Linked DNA regions of Homo sapiens: regions 1, 2, 4 and 5 are each linked to region 3. The links are contacts of gene promoters, found by promoter capture Hi-C in human tissues and cell types (Jung and others, 2019). All regions are on one chromosome and are shown on one strand. The core of a region is centred on a gene start or on the middle of the fragment in contact, and the rest is flanking DNA. Distances in the headings are between cores, read along the strand shown.

Region 1 (2,700 bases), core at 105-2,604, 510 kb before region 3:
CACCATTCTCCTGCTTCAGCCTCCGAACAGCTGGGACTACAGGCACCCGCCACCATGTCGGCTAATTTTTTGTATTTTTAGTAGAGATGGGGTTTCACCATGTTAGCCAGAATGGACTCGATCTCCTGACCTCGTGATCCACTCGCCTCAGCCTCCCACAGTGCTGGGATTACAGGCGTGAGCCACCGCGCCTGGCCTGACTAAAATACATTTTCAAGACTAAAAGCTAAGAACAAAGATTTAGAGATTTGATACAGCATTTGTAGAGAGGGCTTTTAGAGTGATCTCAACCTGATGTAACTGGCTGTGAAATGTAATTCTTCCAGGATGAAAGGTGAAGATCAGTATGCATACATGTATTTATCTACAGTATATACACATAATACATAGTAAAGAATTAAGCTTCAGTAACCTGTAAAATTTGCCTAAGTAGAATACTGATTTTGCAGAGATATGGGCTAAGTAAGATACTATCCTACACATAAACACACGCAGATGATAGAATGAAGTTAAAAACTGTTTCCATTCTTCTTCTACACCTTATATATTCATGTCTATAACAGCCCATAACACACTGTTTACATGTCTGACTTGCCCAACAGACTGTGAAGTCCTTAAGTCTAGCAGGGTGCTACATTCATTTATTATTCAGTAAATAAATGTTGAGCCAAACTGAAGTTACAGGAGAGAAGCAGAAATCATCATGGATTCACACAAGAGTGGGAGGGATTTTTTTTTTTTTTTTTTTGAGATGGAGTTTCACTCTTGTCGCCCAGGCTGGAGTACAATGGCGTGATCTCAGCTCACTGCAACCTCCACCTCCTGGGTTCAAGCAGTTCTCATGACTCAGCCTCCCAAGTACCTGGGATTAAAGGCACGTGCCACCACACCTGGCTAATTTTTGTATTTTTAGTAGAGACGGGGTTTCACCATATTGGCCAGGCTGGTCTTGAGCTCCTCCCCTCAGGTGATCCACCCACCTCAACCTCCCGAAGTGCTGGGATTACAGGTGTGAGCCACCACGACCAGGCCGGGAGGGCTTTCTAGAGAGTATAGGAGCCTCAAAGAAAGATAGGAGCTGGCTAGGAAGAAAATAGGGAAAAGAAAACTCCAAGTCAAGGAGGAGCATATCAAGAATAAAAGAAAGTCAGCCGGGCATGGTGGCTCACACCTGTAATCTCAGCACTTTGGGAGCCCAAGGTGGGTGGATCACAAGGTCAGGAGTTCAAGACCAGCCTGGCCAACATAGTGAAACCTCTTCTCTACTAAAAATACAAAAATTAGCCAGGTGTGGTGGCACGTGCCTGTAGTCCCAGCTATGATACTCAGGAGGCTGAAGCAGGAGAATACCTTGAACCTGGCAAGCAGAGGTTGCAGTGAGCCGAGACCACGCCATTGCACTCCAGCCTGGGTGACAGAGTGAGACTCCATCTCAAAAAAAAAGAATATCACGCCTGTAATCCCAGCACTTTGGGAGGCCGAGGCGGGTGGATCACGAGGTCAGGAGATCGAGACCATCCCGGCTAAAACGGTGAAACCCCGTCTCTACTAAAAATACAAAAAATTAGCCGGGCGTAGTGGCGGGCGCCTGTAGTCCCAGCTACTTGGGAGGCTGAGGCAGGAGAATGGCGTGAACCCGGGAGGCGGAACTTGCAGTGAGCCGAGATCCCGCCACTGCACTCCAGCCTGGGCGACAGAGCGAGACTCCGTCTCAAAAAAAAAAAAAAGAATAAAAGAAAGTCAAAAAGAACAAGAAGGAAGGATTCATCAATTAATACACCAGTTTGGTAATAGCAGTCATGGAAATGATAGTTGAGGGATAAATCCCAGAGAAACTCAAAGTCTAGGGTAGAAGTTTGGCCTAGAGAAGACCTAGTAAAGACGCTTTTCACAGGGAAGTATCATGAAGCACTATTTCAGAAAGATGCCACAAAAACAGAACTGAAGCAACTTCACTTTTTATCCCACTCCATGATTCCCTATTGTGTTTACCAACTGCCTTAAGAAGTCTGGCCCTCATGGTGCATCATTTCAACCAATCACTCAATGACTTCTCCACATTTGTGGATGTATATATATGTATTTTTTTAATATTTGAGACAGGGTCTCGCTCTGTCACCCAGGCTGGAGTGCAGTGGTATGATCATGGTTCACTGCAGCCTCTATCTCCCAGAATCAAGGGATTCTCCCGCCTCAGCTTCCTGAGTAGCCTGCATGCCACCATGCCCAGCTATTTTTTTTATTTTTATTTTTAGTAGAGACAGAGTCTCACTATGTTGCTCAGACTGGTCTCGAACTGCTGGGCTCAAGCAATCCTTCTGCCTCAGCCTCCCAAAGTGCTTGGATTACAGGGTGAGTTACCCTGCCCAGCTGACTTCTCTACATTTGTGAAGTCACTAAAATGACCTCAGCCTTGGTTTTCTCTATATAATAGCAGAACTAGGATCAATCCAACCACTTACCTTCTACATTCCTACATGCAGGCTGCTGAGTACTGCTCCAGAAAAGAACACAACTGTGCCGACTGTCACCAATCCAATTCATGTTTCTAAACTCAGCAGTTTTGTAATCCTTTCACCCCTCCCATTCCCCACAGCAGCTGGTTCTCATGCCATCTATCCTGCCATCAAAATCTCCTTCCTTCATAATAGCCAAAAACTAGAAATATGTGTCCATTAATTGATGAATGGATAAACAAAA
Region 2 (2,700 bases), core at 112-2,611, 410 kb before region 3:
AAGGAGTGTAGTCACCAGTGTGACCATCTTTAACAATGGAATTTTGAAACTTTCTGATTTTTTTTTCTATTATCTTGGCACCATATTTGGCCAAATTCTTACAAACTGGCTAAGGTGAACAAGTGAATTGTTTCATAAAGGATGAAGTGAGGCGTGGGCCCTCACACATTCAAGGGCAGCCCCAAGGTAACCACAGGTAGACCCATGAGCTGCAACGACCATGCTGACCTATGAATCATGGAAATATAGTTGCCACAATTAATGCCTAAAACAAAATTTTAATATAAATTGCTAAAATGAGTCATTAATCTAAGCAGCATGATACAATTGAAAGAGCACAAATGAAATCTGTTAAATCTGTTAAGGGAACGGGAGAAAGCCCAGGAACACATTTATAGTGGTTCATACGGTTTTATGACAGTCACTTAAATAAGGTTTTGGAAACGAAAATGTTGTTAATTATTGCAGGGCGCGGTGGCTCATGCCTGTAATCCCGGCACTTTGGGAGGCCGAGGCGGGCAGATCACGTGGTCAGGAATTCGAGACCAGCCTGGCCAACACAGTGAAACCCCGTCTCTACTAAAAATACAAAAATTAGCCCGGCATGGTGTCCCGCGCCTGTAGTCCCAGCTACTGAGGAGGCTGAGGCAGGAGAATCGCTTGAACCCGGAAGGCGAAGGTTGTGGTGAGCCGGGATCGCACCACTGCACTCCAGCCTGGGCAACAGAGCGAAATCCGTCAAAAAAAAAAAAAAAAAAAAAAGAAAGAAAAGAACAAAAACCTAGTTTATTACTGCTGTTTCCTTATTACCAGGTAGCTTCACATCCTCATCAGTTCAGCAAGTCAAAACTGCATTCTTAGAAAAAATTCTGGAAGTTGATAACTGAATGCAAATATAAAATGACCTGCCCAAGGTCACACAGTTAATCGGGACCGTATCCTGGTGTCGTGATTCCCATCGCAGAGCTCTCCCTTTTCCAGAAACTGGGTGGAGAGAGTGGCATGTGGTGTGGGCGTGGCACGGGTCGGCTCGGCAGAGTTCGCCCCGGGTGGAAAGGAATCTGCTCAGCCCCTTCAACGCCAGGCAGCCGCATGTGCTGCTGGGAAGGACCTTGGGCGCCCCAGTGTCTCATCCCCGGATGTCCGCGCGCCGCCACCTCCCCGCTCTGCACCCTCCGCCATCTCCCCTCTCTGCACCGTCCGCCATCTCCCCGCGCCCCGCGTGCGTGGAATCTACGTTACCTTTTCCAAGGTTCCGCTCATCCTTTGCTGCTGCGCGGCCTCTAGCTGTGCAAACCGAAGACCGGACCCTGCAGCCGCGTTCCCAGGGCGTCTGAAAACACTGAAGGAACGGCCTTGACCAGGTGCAGCAGCAATATCCCACCGAGACTCACTCAACTTCCACATCATTTTAGTTCCGGAAGCTTCTGAAATTCAGAGTCTAGAAATTCTCCTGCTTTCCACCCTCACTCAGGTTGTCACATTCACTGCTGTTTCTCCAGAAAGAATTAATTACCATCTCTGTGTTACCCCAGTACTTAGCACACAATTCTAATTTTTCGCTTACAATATTATACACTAATGATTTGTTACCACCTCTTCTCTGTATTTGAAAGTTCTTAAAAGACTGAGATCCTGTCTGATTAATTCCTTTCAGCGTCTAGCACAGATCTGACTTTTTTGTTTGTTTGAGACGGAGTCTCGCTCTGTTGCGCAGGCTGGAGTGTAGTGGCACGATCTCAGCTCACTGCCACCTCCGCCTCTCGGGTTCAAGCAATTCTGTCTCCAAGTAGCTGGGATTACAGGTGCCCGCCACCACGCCCGCCTAATTTTTATATTTTTACTAGAGATGAGGTTTCTCCATGTTTGTCAGGCTGGTCTTGAACTCCCGACCTCAGGTGATCCGCCCGCCTCGGCCTCCTAAAGTGCTGGGATTACAAGCGTGAGCCACCAGGCCCAGCCAATCATCTCTTAAATTGAGTTTAGAAGTCAGATTTCCACGTCCTGTGCTAGATGCTGGAATAAATTAGTCAGGATCTCAGTCCTTGAGGAACTCAATCAAAATAATAGCAAAAAATAATTAGTATCTAGTAACAAATAATTAGTATCTAGTATGGTAAGTGAAATACCAGAATTGTGTGCAAAGTACTGAGGTAACACAGATACGACAATTAATTATGCTTGGAAATATAATGGACCAGGCATACCTCCTCCAGTACAGTGATTGATTATTGCCTAATAAATGCTATTGGGGTTTTAGAAGTGAAATTTTAAATAAGAAAAAAAAAATCAATCAAATGCTAGTATGTGCCAGGTCGGTTCTTTATGGGTGTATGGGTTCATTTAGTCTTTCCAATAACCCTATGAGGCTGAGGATCATTATACCCATTTCACAGATGAGGAACAGAGACAGGAAGAAGGTACCTAGTTAACATAATGTTATATAAGTGGTGAGCTGTTTCATTTCCGTGCCTGTGCTTCATCTATTTTATGGGACTGTGACTATAGGTTTGCAAAAGGGCAGGTTGGCAGCCAGAGAGTTTCTTTCCTTGTCTAGTCCAGGTAAATACAATCTAATAAGATACATGGCCGGGTGCGGTGGCTCATGCCTGTAATCCCAGCACTTTGGGAGGCCAAGGCAGGCGGATCACAAGGTCGGGAGTTTGAGACCAGCCTGACCAAAACTGTGAAACTCCGTCT
Region 3 (2,700 bases), core at 146-2,645:
ACCCAAAACAATAGAGGATCCCAAAGTGATGATTCACAGTCCATTCAAAGCCCAGCACCTCAGTGTGCAGATGGGGAGACTGAGGCCTGCGCGGGGGAGGGGGGCGGGGGGGTCTGAGAACAAGATTGTGTCCGGGTCCGCTGAGAATACAGATTACACAGGGGCAGAACTTTGCCAGGTGTAGGGACTTCGATGCGTGAGTGTGTGGATGCAGGTGGGCGGGGGGAAGCTGAGACTACCACAGGGCCCCTACCCTGCTGCCATCTGGGCCACCCCACCAGATGTTGCCCAGCCTCGGCTTTCTCCCTCAGCCAGGGCCTATCCCTCAGGGTCCATCTCCTCACCAAGCTGAACTCCTGAGGGGTGCCCTCGTGGGGACAGTCCTGGAGACCCTTGTCTCCTGGCTCCCCAACTTCCTCATCGCCCCACATCTGCCGGAAGGTGTCCTAGGTCCGGTCCCTCCTCCTCCTGCCTCTTACTCATCATCACCCTAGGCGCAGACACACACACACACACACACACACTGACACCACTTGACCCCACACGCACACCATGGCGCCAGCGAGCTCGGCTCGTTCTCAGTCACTTGGGCTCCTCTCCCTCTATTTCACACTCACAGTAACGGGTGGCCCTGGCCCTGCGCCGGTCACGCCCCAAGCCACGCACTTCGTGACCCCAGTGACCCCGGGTCTTTCCCTCACACAACACACGCACACACGCTGCCTGTCTCCCACACACAGAGCCCCTCTGTGTCGCCCGCTCGGCCCGGCGTCACCGCCCAGTGTCCCAGCCACACGTTCGCCCGGCCAGGCCGCCTCACGCGCCGTGTCACCCACAGTCACGGGCTGACACCATCCAGACCCCCCCTTGGCCGCCCCGCGCCGCAGCCGCGCCGAGGCGCCGCCGTCCAGCCCGCACCACAACCTGGTCTCGGTCCAAGTTTCCCGGGCCGGGGACCGCTCCGGGCCCCGCCGGCCCCTCACACCGCAAGTTCCGCTGCTTCCCCGCGCGCCCCCCGACAGCCACCACGCAGGGCCGGCCCGGAGTCGCGGCCGGAGGACCTGCAGGTCACGGGGCTCGGAGACTGGCGGTGGCCGGTGCGCGGAAGGCGCCGGGACAGGACGCGAGGCGGGAGGAGTGGGGTGGGGGGGCGCGCGGCCGGGCTGCCGCATCCGCCGAGCCCGCGAACTTCCTCAGAGACACGGGGAGGCAGGGGGCGCCACTAGGGTCCGTATCCCGCTGGCCCGGCCGCGGAGAGCAGACTCTGGATGGGCGCTCCGCGCGCCCTCCTTACCTGGCTGCGCCGCGGCAGCTCCAGCTCGGCTCCCCGTTCGACTCGGCGCCGCGGCCCGGCTCGGCGAGCGCCCGGACAGCCGCGCAGCCTGCGCGCCTTTTGAATGAATCGCCGGCTGGGCCGGGAAGGTGCGCAGACCCGCCCCCGCGCGTCACGGCCGCTCCGCCCCCGACGTCAGAGCGCGGTCTGCGCCCCGCGCCCGACTCACCCCGAGCCGCGGAGGGGCTCGCCGCTCTGCCGCTGGGCGGTGCTGCTCTACGTCGCCCTCTCTCGCGCCCCTGGGAACTGCAGGGGGCTGCGCGGGACTGGGCGGCGGTGCCCAGAGGGCCTCTTGTATCCGCCTCTTCAAGGCTCTGAACCAAGCAAGGAGTTGTGCGAAGCAAGATAAAGAGACTGGAGACTGAGATACTCCTCTGGGTCCTCTCAGCATTGCCAGTGTAACTAGAGCCACCTCTGCCCCTTTCTGGGCTTCATCTTCCTCCTGCCAGTTGGTGGCCAGGAAGAATAACCTCACTTTGCTTTGTTGACGAGGCCCAGGCCCAACCCTGGAAACCCTCACCTAGTTGGCGAAAAGGCCTGGTGAAGGTGAGTCTATAAAGGAAGCCCACACGGTGGGCTTCGGCACATCCTTCAAGGCCTAGTGAAATCCTCCAGGAGGCGTCTCCTGCCTCCACTCCCCTACTCCCCGCACCACTTCTCTGTGCCAGGGTAGTTAGTTTCCCTCCAGCAGGACAGGTGACTCAGTGCCCCCCTCCCTACTACAGCCATCCCACCCTGCCAGTTTCCAATGCCAGTCATCACAAACTCCAGGCAGTATTCACACTGTATTCCGACTCCGAATCGTGTCCCCTGGAGTTGTGCTACAGGGTGTGCCAGGACTGGAGGGAGCAGCTCAGTGGCCCGTTCCCCCTCTCAGTACTATTCAGGGGATCTCAGGCGGTCCTCCTGGGACAGTAGGGCTGATGGGAGACTGAGACACCAGGGAGGACCTAGTGCTGGGCCAGAGGCCTGGCTGGGGTCAGGATAATCACAGCCCATGACAGAGATGGAGAAAGGAAGGTAAATAAGTCAGCTGGGGATAGATGGCTGGGGGTGGGGTTCTAAACAGTCATAGAATCTGAACCCAGGGGCTAGGAGACGGAAAAGGTCAGGTCCCCAGGGTCCAGGAGATTCCAGGAGGCGAACTGGACACCGCATGGGGAGGGGAGCAGGGGATGAGTTTTCATTTCCCTGGGTCATGCTCAGGTTGTGGGGGAAGGGCATAAGGAGCTACAGGTCATTGATGTCAGGATCATGACATCAGCACCCTCATATGTCAATGGAGACCTCCAGGGCTGGGGCAGGGGTTCTTCCAGGGTCCCACATCCCAGCCTACGGAAGGCCAGAGCATCCAGAATGCCTCCACT
Region 4 (2,700 bases), core at 183-2,682, 320 kb before region 3:
GCAAAAAAGGGAAAACTTGTCTCTACAGAATAATGAAAAATAAATAAAAATTTAAAAATTACCTAGCTCTGGTTGAGTGTCTGTAGTCCCAGCTATTCAGGAGCCTGAGAGAGCCTGAGATGGGACCGTCACTTGACCCCAGGAGTTGGAGGTTGCAGTGAGCTATTAGCACGCCACTGCACTCCAGCCTGGATGACAGAGCAAGACCCTTGATTCAAAAAAATTAAAAAGGAGAGAAGCAAAACGAATGCTGGCACAAAGAGGTTTATTGACTAATTGAATGATATCACATATAGTTAGAATGGTTGAGGAATGCTTTGTTTAAAAAACAGCATTATCGGCCTGGCGCAGTGGCTCAAACATGTAATCCCAGCACCTTGGGAGGCCAAGGTGGGTGAATCACCGGAGGTCAGGAGTTCGAGACCAGCCTGACCAACATGGTGAAACTCTGTCTCTACTAAAAATACAAAAAATTAGCTGGGTGTGGTGGCGGGCGCCTGTAATCCCAGCTACTGGGAAGGCTGAGGCAGGAGAATCACTTGAACCTGGGAGGCGGAGGTTGGAGTGACCTGAGATTGTGCCATTGCATTACAGCCTGGGCGACAGAGCAAGACTCCATCTCAAAAAAAAAAAAAAAAAAAATCGCAAAAAAAGTATCTGAGCTGAACTGAGTGTACTTGATTTGGATAGGTAACTGGGGATGCTTCTAGGAAGAAGAAAAATTAACATATGTATGATACAAGACTACCTAGCACACATAGTGTAAATACTATGCCATGAACGTTCACTTAAAATCTTTCATATTGCCTTCCTAGCAAGCACTTTATATACAATATCTAGGTGCTTAGATACTTGTCGAATACAAGAAGGAATCTATGTAACAATCCTACGAGTCAACTGCTATTGTTGGTCTGATTTTAGAGAGAAAATCTGAAGCGTAGAAATTATATAACTTTCCTAGAATTGCCTAAATACTATCTGCTAGATCCATTTAATGTACCAAGTGTTTAACTTAATTCTCACAATATCCCTATGAAGTAGATAAGTATATTCATTTCACTGATATGAAACCAAAGTTTTAGAGGCCAAGTAACTTGCTTAAGATTATAACTTAAACTGCAATGTGAGCCCAGGTCTATTTAGTTCCAAAATCTGAGATCTTAAGCCTTATATTCTGCCTCTCTCAAATTTAACCTCACCCCAATTTATCCTTTTGTGTTTCATATCCTTAACACAGTAGGACTTTATTTTTTATTTTTATTTATTTATTTTTTTGAGAGTCTCACTCTGTCACCCAGGCTGGAGTGCAGTGGCACAATCTCGGCTCACTGCAATCTCTGCCTCCAGGGTTCAAGTGATTCTCCTACCTCAGCCTACTGAATAGCTGGGATTATAGGCATGCTCCACCTCGCCTGGCTAATTTTTGTATTTTTTAGTAGAGATGGAGTTTTGCCATGTTGGCCAGGCTGGTCTTGAACTCCTGACCTCAGGTGATCTGCCCACCTTGGCCTCCCAAAGTGCTGGGGTTACAGGCGTGAGCCACCATGCCCAGCCCACAGTAGGACTTCAGTATAACTGAATGGTCAGAAATCTATATGTATAATGAATATGAACTGACAGAGAAATTATATTGATCAGGTTTTATTCAGTCATTAATTAACTCAGATATTTGTTGATCACCTCCTGCATGCCTAGTTATGTTATAGGCACTGGGGATACAATAATGGAACAAAATACCTAAGTCTGTGCCATTATGGAGCTTACATTCTGGTATGGAGAGTTAGACAATTAGTGAAATATAATCCTTAAGGAGGTTATAGATTCTATAGAGAAAAATGAAGTAGGGGCCAGGCACAGTGGCTCATGCCTGTAATCCCAGTGTTTTGGGAGACTGAAGCAGGCAGATCACTTGAGGCCAGGAGTTCAAGATCAGCCTGGCCAACATAGTGAAACCCGTCTCTACTAAAAATACGAAAATCAGCCGAGTGTGGTGGTGCTCACCTGTAATCCCAGCTACTTAGAAGGCTGAAGCACAAGAATCACTTGAACCTGGGTGGTGGAGGTTGCAGTGAGGCGGAGGTTGCAGTGAGCCGAGACCATGCCACTGCACTCCAGTCTGGGAGACAGAGTGAGACTGTTTCAAAAAGAAAAAAAAAGAAAAGAAAAACAGAAAAATAAAGTAGGGTAAGAAGGATAAAGAATACTGGTGAAGGGAATTATGATATATTGATGTCTTATAAAAGGAGGGAAAGCCTGTCTGATAAGGTGATATTTGAGCAAAGAACTGAAGGAATTGAGAAAGTGAGCCATTTATACATCCAGGGAAGAGCATGCCAAGCTTCAAGTGCAGTGACAAATTCAAAGGAACTTGTCATGTTTAAGGAATAGTAAGGAAATTAGTAAGGTTACACTAGAGTGAAGGAAGGGGCATATGATAAGAAAAGAGCTCACAGAGATAGTTATGGAGAACAGAGGCCTTAAGACCATGTGGGCAGTAGTGAGGATTTGGCATTTTATTCCCAGTGAGAGAGGAAGCCATTTTCATGAGAGATTTGACAGGATCTCACTTAAAATTTAAAAGTAATCAGGCCAGGCACGATGGCTCATGCCCGGTAATCCCAGCACCTTGGGAGGCCAAGGTGGGAGGACTGCTTGAACCCTGGAGTTCAAGACTAGCCTGGGCAACATAGGGAGAGTGTG
Region 5 (2,700 bases), core at 185-2,684, 380 kb before region 3:
TCTACCGCCTCGGCCTCCCAAAGTGCTGGGATTACAGACGTGAGCCACCGCGCCCAGCTGCTTTATGGATTTTTTTTTTTGGAGACAGAGTCTCGCTCTTGTTGCCCAGACTGGAGTGCAATGGTGTGACCTTGGCTCACTGCAACCTCCGCCTCCCGTGTTCAAGCGATTCTCCTGCCTCAGCCTCCCAAGTAGCTGGGATTACAGGCACCCGCCACCACACCACGTTAATTTTTTGTATTTTTAGTAGAGATGGGGTTTCATCATGTTGGCCAAGGCTGGTCTGGAACTCCTGACGTCAGGTGATCCACCCAACTCAGCCTTCCAAAGTGCTGGGATTACAGGGATGAGCCACCACGCCCGGCTTTTTTTTTTTTTTTTTTTTTTTTTTTCTGTTGAGATGGAGTCTCGCTCTGTCGCCAGGCTGGAGTGCAGTGGTGTGATCTCGGCTCACTGCAACCTCCGCCTCCCGGGTTCAAGCGATTCTCCTGCCTCAGCTTCCCGAGTAGCTGGGACTACAGGCGCGCGCCACCACCCCCAGCTAATTTTTGCATTTTTAGTAGAGACAGGGTTTCACCATGTTGGCCAGGATGGTCTCGATCTCTTGACCTCGTGATCCACTCGCCTCCGCCTCCCAAAGTGCTGGGATTACAGCCGTGGGCCACCGCGCCCAGCCCGCTTTATGGATTTTGCAAGTCATTTACTCCCTCTAAGCTTCAGTTTCCTCATCTGCAAAATTGGGAGGCCATGATTCTGGCAGTTATAACATTCCTGGGAGCAATGGAGGAGAATGTTATTTAGTAAGATGCCTGTGAGGAATTATGATGAGAGGATGGAGAAGGTGGGGTGTGTGCAATGGTGAAGAAGGGATCTGAGGACTGTGAGGCACGGCTGAGGGCTCAGGAAAGAGGCTCCCATTACAAATTTTAAGGCTATAGGACCCCACCCACACTTTTTGGGGGATCATATTCCACCTTTGTCCCGGCCCCGCCTCCGCCCCACCCTTCTCCCCCTCCCCTTTCTTTCCTTCCCCTCCCCTCAGGCTGAGAGGCGCCACACTTCTTATGGCCGCCACAGTGCTCCGCTTTCCACAGCTCGAGGGCTGCGCGCGCTCTCACGCTGCCACCTCACTCGCGTGTGGGCTCGCCCTCAGCCCCTTCCGATTGGCTCATTATGTAAGTGACGTAAGGGCTCCAGCCTCCCACTAACTTATCCCTGGCTTGCCCCGCCTCCTCCTGGCTTCTTTTGACGCCAGTGGAAACCTAACCTGCCCCGTCGCCGCCGTGCGGGAGGAGCCGGTAGAGCTGTCCAAACCAGGAAGGCGATGGCGATGGCGGTGGCGCGCACGCATGCACGCACGCACGCACGCCAGCGGCCGGCGGGGCCGCAGGCTCGCGCCCGGGCTCGCCCCGCGCCGCTCCAGAGGCTCGCGCACTCAGCAGGTTGGGCTGCGGCGGCGGCGGCAGCTGTGGAAGCTCAGGCGCTGCGCGTGAGAGGTCCCAGATACGTCTGCGGTTCCGGCTCCGCCACCCTCAGCTTCTCTTCCCCAGGTCTGGGAGCCGAGTGCGGAAGGAGGGAACGGCCCTAGCTTTGGGAAGCCAGAGGACACCCCTGGCTCCTGCCGACACCGCCCTCCTTCCCTTCCCAGCCGCGGGCCTCGCTCGGTGCTAGGCTACTCTGCCGGGAGGCGGCGGCGGCTGCCAGTCTGTGGAGAGTCCTGCTGCCCTCCAGCCGGGCTCCTCCACCGGGCCTTGCAGGGGCCGAGAGAGCTCGGTGCCCGCCCTTCCGCTCGCCTTTTTCGTCAGCTGGCTGGAGCAGCATCGGTCCGGGAGGTCTCTAGGCTGAGGCGGCGGCCGCTCCTCTAGTTCCACAATGTCCACGGGCGGAGACTTCGGGAATCCGCTGAGGAAATTCAAGCTGGTGTTCCTGGGGGAGCAAAGCGGTGAGTGCGTGGCTCCCCTACTCCTGGCAGCTGGCCGCAGCGTCCCCGCACCGCCCCCGGTGCGGCCCTTCCGTCCGCGGAGGCTCCCTGCCCGCCTCGCGTCCGCGCTCGTTGCCACCGCAGCCCTTCCCGATGTGCCCCCCGGTGCCACTGGCTCTTCGCCAGTGGCCGAGTTTTTACCCTGTTCCCCGGGTTCTTCAATCCTCGACTCCCCGGCTCCGTTCCCCGCAGTCCGGCCATCTCCGGTCGATCTGCCCTCCCTCCCCAGACCTCACCCCGCCCAGCCTCTTGTCCATCCCTTTCTTCCTCCGGTCTCGGTCATTGCCCGTACCCCGGCCCCCTTTCTTGAGCCCCACCCTTATTCCTTGCTCTTTTCCCAGTTCCTCAGCTCTGTGAGGCCCACTCAGGGAAGCCCCACTCCCGAGAGCGGGCCCTCTTCAACCTTGGCCAAGGAGGGTGGGATCTGGGCGTTGTTTTCCCCAGAGGCTTGGCCCTGCGAAGTGCTGATGTCGTGGAAGGTGGGAAGGGGTGGTAGTAGAAAAAATTAAATGATTTTCACCTGGGTGGGAAATTAGTCTGGGCCATAGAGGAAACATCTGAATTGGAGACGACTTGAGCATGGGGTGGTTGGGGGTGAAAGGGGTAGCGTCGGCAGTGGAGATTTTTGCCCCTTAGGTTAGATGGGGCTGTGGCTTGTCGGAAAACCTCATTTTGTTCTCTTGACTTTCATCACTGACAATTCTTTTGGCAATGTTGAT

What was found. Contacts are between HindIII fragments. The study calls those that stand out against the background at their distance.
Region 1: a contact is called between a fragment that was not itself captured here and the fragment with the promoter of RELT in region 3, in 1 of the 25 tissues and cell types used here (thymus).
Region 2: the fragment with the promoter of MRPL48 here is called in contact with the fragment with the promoter of RELT in region 3 in 1 of the 25 tissues and cell types used here (IMR-90 fibroblasts).
Region 4: a contact is called between a fragment that was not itself captured here and the fragment with the promoter of RELT in region 3, in 3 of the 25 tissues and cell types used here (H1 embryonic stem cells, dorsolateral prefrontal cortex and lymphoblastoid cells).
Region 5: the fragment with the promoter of RAB6A here is called in contact with the fragment with the promoter of RELT in region 3 in 1 of the 25 tissues and cell types used here (mesenchymal stem cells).

What each region holds. Positions count from the first base shown.
Region 1 is chr11:73,883,891-73,886,590 of GRCh38, reverse strand. The region is part of intron 2 of PAAF1 (proteasomal ATPase associated factor 1); the gene reads right to left. Among named protein-coding and RNA genes, the nearest start is that of PAAF1, 8.2 kb to the right of the region's middle. The HindIII fragment of the contact is 5,400 bases long and covers 1-2,700 here.
Region 2 is chr11:73,786,535-73,789,234 of GRCh38, reverse strand. It overlaps MRPL48 (mitochondrial ribosomal protein L48), which reads right to left and starts at 1,361. Exons shown (of 8, transcript NM_016055.6): 1 at 1,243-1,361. The coding sequence starts at 1,263. RefSeq lists enhancers at 1,148-1,227, 1,368-1,427. The HindIII fragment of the contact is 15,089 bases long and covers 1-2,700 here.
Region 3 is chr11:73,375,094-73,377,793 of GRCh38, reverse strand. RELT (RELT TNF receptor) reads right to left here and starts at 1,395. Exons shown (of 11, transcript NM_152222.2): 1 at 1,295-1,395. RefSeq lists an enhancer at 416-710 and silencers at 876-955, 1,046-1,335, 1,366-1,675. The HindIII fragment of the contact is 25,019 bases long and covers 1-2,700 here.
Region 4 is chr11:73,696,792-73,699,491 of GRCh38, reverse strand. All of the region lies in intron 6 of RAB6A (RAB6A, member RAS oncogene family), which reads left to right. Among named protein-coding and RNA genes, the nearest start is that of PLEKHB1, 52 kb to the right of the region's middle. The HindIII fragment of the contact is 4,915 bases long and covers 1-2,700 here.
Region 5 is chr11:73,759,808-73,762,507 of GRCh38, reverse strand. RAB6A (RAB6A, member RAS oncogene family) reads left to right here and starts at 1,434. Exons shown (of 8, transcript NM_198896.2): 1 at 1,434-1,942. The coding sequence starts at 1,873. It overlaps LOC124902711 (a long non-coding RNA gene), which reads right to left and starts at 1,350. Exons shown (of 2, transcript XR_007062775.1): 1 at 1,268-1,350; 2 at 1-771. RefSeq lists silencers at 827-1,016, 1,177-1,486 and an enhancer at 1,783-2,283. The HindIII fragment of the contact is 11,651 bases long and covers 1-2,700 here.